2 separate regions of the Homo sapiens genome follow, and region 2 is linked to region 1. The links are contacts of gene promoters, found by promoter capture Hi-C in blood cells and fetal thymus (Javierre and others, 2016). All regions are on one chromosome and are shown on one strand. The core of a region is centred on a gene start or on the middle of the fragment in contact, and the rest is flanking DNA. Distances in the headings are between cores, read along the strand shown. Region 1 holds the start of P4HB (prolyl 4-hydroxylase subunit beta). Region 2 overlaps CCDC137 (coiled-coil domain containing 137).

The links. The method cuts DNA at HindIII sites, captures the fragments that hold promoters and counts their contacts. A CHiCAGO score of 5 or more calls a contact.
Region 2: a fragment that was not itself captured here is called in contact with the fragment with the promoter of P4HB in region 1 in 3 of 17 cell types (erythroblasts, naive CD4 T cells and activated CD4 T cells); the score reaches 5.6 in erythroblasts.

What each region holds. Positions count from the first base shown.
Region 1 is chr17:81,859,217-81,862,654 of GRCh38, reverse strand. P4HB (prolyl 4-hydroxylase subunit beta) reads left to right here and starts at 2,120. Exons shown (of 11, transcript NM_000918.4): 1 at 2,120-2,328; 2 at 3,268-3,438. The coding sequence starts at 2,184. It overlaps LOC124904086 (a long non-coding RNA gene), which reads right to left and starts at 1,545. Exons shown (of 2, transcript XR_007065950.1): 1 at 1,516-1,545. RefSeq lists silencers at 2,000-2,219, 2,430-2,529. The HindIII fragment of the contact is 26,352 bases long and covers 1-3,438 here.
Region 2 is chr17:81,669,405-81,672,650 of GRCh38, reverse strand. It overlaps CCDC137 (coiled-coil domain containing 137), which reads right to left. Exons shown (of 6, transcript NM_199287.3): 3 at 2,198-2,426; 4 at 825-907; 5 at 496-575; 6 at 1-156. Among named protein-coding and RNA genes, the nearest start is that of CCDC137, 4.3 kb to the right of the region's middle. The HindIII fragment of the contact is 162 bases long and covers 1,337-1,498 here.

The DNA.
Region 1 (3,438 bases), core at 871-3,370:
GCTGGGCATGGTGGTGCATGCCTGTAATCCCAGCTACTCGGGAGGCTGAGGCAGGAGAATCGCTTGAATCCGGGAGGTGGAGTGAGCCGAGATCGCCCACTGCACTCCAGCTTGGATGACAAAGTGAGATTCTGTCTCAAAAAAATAAAAAATAAAAATTTTAAAAAAAGGACATTTTTTTACTATTTTTTGAGATAGGGTGTCGATCTGTCGCCCAGGCTGGAGTGCAGTGGTGGGATCATGGCTCACCGCAGCCTCAGCCTCCTGGGCTCAAATGATTCTCCCACCTCCACCTCCCAAGTAGCTGGGACCACAGGTGCACACCACCGTGCCTGGCTAATTTTTTTAATTTATTTTTTGTAGAGACGGGAGTCTCACTATGTTGCCCAGGCTGGTCTCGAACTCCTGGGCTGAAGGGATCCTCCTGCCTCGGTCTCCAAAAGTGGTGGGATTACAGGAGTGAGCCACACAGCACCTGGCCTCAATATTATTATGTAATCCAACATATGCATACAGAATATTTCAACATGTAGTAGTCAATGTAAAGTTATTAACGAAATACTGTACCTTCTGTCCTCCAGCCCCTACACGCACACTTTTTTTTTTTTTTTTTTGAGATGGAGTCTCGCTCTGTTGCCCAGGCTGGAGTGCAATGGCGCGATCTCGGCTCACTGCAACCTCTGCCTCCTGGGTTCAAGCGATTCTCTTGCCTCAGCCTCCCGAGTAGCTGGGATTACAGGCGCGCGCCACCAGGCCCTGTTAATTTTTGTATTTTTAGTAGAGACGGGAGGTGAGGGGGTTTCACCATGTTGATCAGGCTGGTCTCGAACTCCTGACCTCGTGATCCGCCCGCCTCGGCCTTCCAAAGTGCTGGGATTACAGGCGTGAGCCACCGCACTCGGCCCCGCACACTCAGTCTTAGAAGTTTGATGTGCATTGCGCACTCACAGCCCGTCTCAGGTGGACTGGCCATATTTCAAGTGCTCAGGAGCCTCGGTGGCGGGTCGAGTCGGGAGGCAAACCCAGCTGCTGCCTTCGGAGTGAAGCAGCGCCCAGGGTATTTCCACAGCTGTGTAACAGCTGCGAGGTCTCCTGAGCCGACCAGAGCATCTGAGAAGCACCAGAGAAGGGGCAGCGTCACAGGATTTGGCAACCCGTGGGAAAGGAAGGAAGAGATCGCACAGGGCAAAGGGCCGCTCCCTGAAGGCCTTAGCGGGGAGTACCTTTCCTGCGGCCGCTCCACGCATGAGCAGCGTCTTCCTGGGGCCTGGGAGCCGGCAGGTCCCCGGGGCCCAGGTCCCGCCCCTCCCGCCCGTCTCTCCAGCCCCATTCTCCTAACCACCCGCCCTGTGCTCGTATCCCCTCCGAGGCTTCCTCGCACTGTGCGCACGATTCCCATGCCCAGGCCCTGCCGCCATGCCTCGGTGAGTGTCTCGCGTGACCTCGCGGAGCGCGTCGGACCGGGCCGGCTATCCCACACCGAGCCCACCGCCGACCCTAGGCGGCCAACCCCACCTTCCACGGCCGCCGCCGCACGCTTGACACGCGCGCCGGAAATTGCGTCACCCCAACTTCCGGTCCGGGGGCCGGGGGGCGTGCCAGTTGGGTACGCGGTCCAGTCAGAATGCAACACGAGGGGTTTCGGAAGCGCAGCCGCAGCTCCGCCCCTAAACTGGGAACTCCTCCCCACTGCCACGTTCGACGAAGGAACGCGCAGAGTGCGCGCATCCCTTGGCCAATCAGGAGGCGCAGAGTCCGTGCTACCGAAAGGGGCAGCCATTCCAGACCCGTGGAAGGTGCAGGCGAAAGCCACCAATTAGAAGCCAAGGCAGAAAAAGTTCTTGTCGGGAGCCAATGAGAGGCTAAGAAAGACAGCGAGCGCGAGGTCCTCGGCCAATCCCGAACGAAGGCCAGGGAGCACTCAGGAGCGTTTCCGAATCCGGGGCCAGGCCTGGTGTGAGTGTCCAATCCGAGAGCGGCAAAGACGAGCCTCGAAGTCCGCCGGCCAATCGAAGGCGGGCCCCAGCGGCGCGTGCGCGCCGCGGCCAGCGCGCGCGGGCGGGGGGGCAGGCGCGCCCCGGACCCAGGATTTATAAAGGCGAGGCCGGGACCGGCGCGCGCTCTCGTCGCCCCCGCTGTCCCGGCGGCGCCAACCGAAGCGCCCCGCCTGATCCGTGTCCGACATGCTGCGCCGCGCTCTGCTGTGCCTGGCCGTGGCCGCCCTGGTGCGCGCCGACGCCCCCGAGGAGGAGGACCACGTCCTGGTGCTGCGGAAAAGCAACTTCGCGGAGGCGCTGGCGGCCCACAAGTACCTGCTGGTGGAGTTCTGTGAGCGCCGGGCCTGGCGGGCGGGCGGGGCTCGGGGCCGCTGAGCCAGGCTCTTGGGACGCAGGCACGGCCCGGCAGCCCCCGGGGTCGGGACCCCCGGCGCGCCCGGAACTGAAGGGCTCCCTTGCTGCCCGCCTTGGGGGCCATGTCAGGGGCTCCCTGGGGGTGAGAGCCGGGCTGGGAGCCGGGGGGCCGTCCCGATGCCCGCCCTGCGCACGGCAGGATCTTCCTGTTAGTGCGAGAAGAACAGGATCGACCTGTGTGAGCAAACAGAGCAAGCCAGTGTCCAGCCTTGCCGAGTCCTCCCCGGGGGCCGACCCGGAAGGCGCCCCGCTCCTGCCCACCCCACCTTCAGCTTGCCACAGCAGTCCTTCCGATGGTGTCTCAGAGGAGAATCCCAAGCCTTCCTCACGTCCATAAGGATTTGAGCTCTGTCCCTGGGGTGGGAACCTTGTGCCTGACACAGCTGCTAACTCTATTGACAGATCGTCTTATTCTCACCCTAAGCAACTCAGGGTCTGTGTGCACGGATGTGCATCTCATACTCACAGCTAGTGCTGGTACAGGCCGCCACGGTCACTTCTTCACTTTTGTCTGTAGTCTTAAAGGGAAAGTCTAGGGGAGATCCTTGCCTTAGTTGCCTGTGGGGAATAAGAAGTCAGCAACCATTGAAAGGTTTGTCTGGCTGTGCTGATGGTGACATAGCAGAGTGGGGGCTGGTGTTGGTTGGTGGTAGTTTGTCGTTCACGGCCTCTGTCCTGATATTGCCCAAGAACACCAGGCTATCAGCTCAGCCTTGTGCGTTAGGAGGGGTTATCTTGGTGAGTAGATAAGGTTTTTATGAAGGGAAATGCCAGAGGAAAAAGGGAAGCACTGCTGAGGGATCAAGGCTGCTTTAGGGATCAAGGCTGCTTTCTAGCATCTCATTTCCGCTTCCAGATGCCCCTTGGTGTGGCCACTGCAAGGCTCTGGCCCCTGAGTATGCCAAAGCCGCTGGGAAGCTGAAGGCAGAAGGTTCCGAGATCAGGTTGGCCAAGGTGGACGCCACGGAGGAGTCTGACCTGGCCCAGCAGTACGGCGTGCGCGGCTATCCCACCATCAAGTTCTTCA
Region 2 (3,246 bases), core at 168-2,667, 190 kb after region 1:
CAGCTGCTGCTGCCGCTGCTTCAACGCTCTGTAGGCCTGCACGGCCCGCTCTCTCTCCTCCTCCACAATCCGCTGGCGGGCCAGGGAGGCGGTCAGAGGCTGGGACACACCACCGGGGCTCAGAAGCATCCGCAGCATCTGCGATCTCCTGCCAGGCTGAGGGAGAGAGGGGAGGGTGAGGCACAGGCTGGGAAAGGAGGGGATGCAACAGAAAGCCTCACAGCTTCAACAGCTCTCCCGCCAGCGAGAACACTGCACTCTCAGGCCACACACCAGACAGCGCACACGTTGGCTGAGGGTTTTTTTTTTTCTTGACACAGGATCTCGCTATGTTGTCCAGGCTGGTATCAACTCCTGGGCTCAAGCAATCCGCCTGCCTTGGCCTCCCAATGTGCTGGGATTACAGGTGTGACCCACCGTGTCCAGCCTGTCCAAGGCTTCTGTTCCCTGGCAGCACTGGGGGACAAACTCAAGTTGTCCCCGTGCCCCACTTACCTGGTCCTTGCTTACGCTCCTCTGGGGCCTGGCAGTCAGCTCTGGGGGCTGCAGGACAACCTCACCAAACTTCACCGTGTCTGGAGGAGCAGAATACAACTGAGGACTGCTGCCCACAGCCACTGCACCCCTGACACCCAGAGCCACCACCCGCCCACCTCCCTCCCATAGGGCTGGGACAGAACACCAACTCATCCAGTGGTCTAATGGCTGTGGACCCCAGGGGAAACCACAGGTGCCCAGTGCAGCCAGGGCTGGTGGGGAACAGAAGGCCTGCGCCCAGGCCCCACCCGGACCACTGCTGACACCATCGCTTTGGGAAGAGCTACCTCGGAGCAACTCCTGCTCCAGCCTGTCTGCCGCCTTTTCCTCCTTTTTCCGTCGGACTTTATCTAGTCGCCGCTTCTGGAACCTGGGGAAGAAAGCACATGTCACTCAGATTCCTAAATTCTCTTTCCACCCAGGGAGGAGGCAGAGGCCGCCCCACCCACAAGGGATCCCCTGTGGCAGAGCAGGGACCCAAGAACAGGTGGCTGCCTCCAAGTCCCCGCTCCCCTTACCACCCCAAAACCCACAGCTGCCCACCAAAGAAGGCTCTGACCCCAACAGGCCCCTCACAGGTCCCCCAGTGGTTCTCAGCTGGGGACAGCTACCTGCCAGGGAACATCTGACAATGTGTGCAGACACGTGGGCAAGGGCTACTGGCACCTTGTGCACGAAGGCTGGGAAGGCTGCCAAAGACCACCCAACAGAGACTCATCCAGCCCATCCGGTGCTGCTGTGTCTAAAGGGCCTAACAAGCATTGTATATCACGTCTCCCTCAATGTGAATCTGGAAGCTTCACCTTCAGCGACAGCTCTGGAGATCACCGTGGCGCCAGGCTGTATCTGGGCCACGTTCTCTGTGATGAACTTTCACTGGCTAAGGTAACTATAAGTAATACAACAATCCAGAAACAGGGAATCTACAGAGCTGAAAGCAACCTCTCAAACCTTCAAAGCTTTTTTTTTTTTTTCTTTTTTTTGAGATGGAGTCTCGCTCTGTCACCAGGCTGGAGTGCAGCGGCACGATCTCAGCTCACTGCAACCTCTGCCTCCCGGATTCAAGCGATTCCACTGCCTCAGGCTCCCAAGTATCTGGAATTACAGGCATGCACCACCACGCCCGGCTAATTTTTTTTTTTGTATTTTATTAGAGACAAGGTTTCACCGTGTTGGCTAGGATGGTCTCGATCTCCTGACCTCGTGATCCACCTGCCTCAGCCTCCCAAAGTGCTGGGATTACAGGCGTGAGCCACTGTACTCGGCCAAAGCTTTTAGAGAATTAGGAAGGTGTAGTCTCTTGGACGAGAGACATTCTGTTCTAATGGAAACAGAACCCCTGGGCACGTCACCCTCAGACCGACCCCCTCAGGGCTGATTCCCACAGGGCTAGGGCTTTCTGGTGCTTTTCCTGTGAAAGCAAGGACCAAGCGAGGTCTCCGCAGAGTTCCCAGGTTCCGCAGCCTCCTGGAGGCCACACCCTCACTGGCTCCCAGCTGGATGCTCCGACTCGCCAACTCCCAGGGCTCTGGCTTGGTCTCCCTGAATCCAGGCTGCCCCATGGCTATGAAACAGGGTACCTGCAGAGGGCCGTCATGGGAACCCAATGTCTTCCCTCCGGCTCCCAGGGCAGACCCCTCCCCCTCCCGCCTCCACTCACGCTTTTTTTGCTTTTTTCTGCTCAGACTTCTCCTTGGGAGCTGCCTGCACCTCTGGCTGCCGGATGGCCTGGTTCTTGCTGAGGAACAGCACATGCTGGGCCTCTTGCTGCATGCGGTGGATATAGGCCCCGTCAGACTCCCCCTTCCTCTGTTTGAACTTGGGGACTGCGATGTCGGGCTCCTCTCCCTTTGCTTCCTTCTCCAATGTCTTTCTGAAGGTCACCTGGGCTGAGGACAAAGGGAGGCCTCAGAGGAGGCAGGAGGCAGACAGTGGCAGGCAGGTGACCCATGCTCATTTCCCCTCCCAAAGCCACAGGAAGGGAAGACCAGGCTGGCTGGAAGCACCCCAACGACAGCAGCTGAAGAGGATGTAGAATGCCCGGCCCGGCATCCCCGGGGACGTGACCCCCCAGCCCAATGGCACCTGTCACAGATGTCCACTGCAGCACAGCTGAAAAAGGAAAGCAGAAACAACCTAATGTCCACCCCTAGGTGGCTGGTTGAATGAATTCTCCTCTGATCACCCACAGACTCCATTGCACAGCTGCCGAAAGAAGCCCAGTGGAGCTACACAGAGAAACGTGGGCAGACCTGCCGGGCGCGGTGGCTCATGCCTGTAATCCCAGCACTTTGGGAGGCCAAGATGGGCAGATCACAAGGTCAGGAGATTCAGACCATCCTGGCTAACACGGTGAAACCCTGTCTCTACTAAAAACACAGAAAAAATTAACTGGGCATGGTGGTGGGCGCCTGTAGTCCCAACTACTCGGGAGGCTGAGGCAGGAGAATGGCGTGAACCCGGGAGGCGGAGCTTGCAGTGAGCCGAGATTGCGCCACTGCACTCCAGCCTGGGCGACTGAGCGAGACTCCATCTCAAAAAAGAAACGTGGGCAGACCTATGACATCCACTGAGAACGCAAGCGCAGGACCCCGGGCGAGTGTAGAACACAGGAGGCGGACAGTGCCAGGCAGGTGGTTGTGTTCATAAATATGTGAAGACATGCATATTGCCAGGCATGGTGGTTCACACCTGTAATCCCAGCACTTT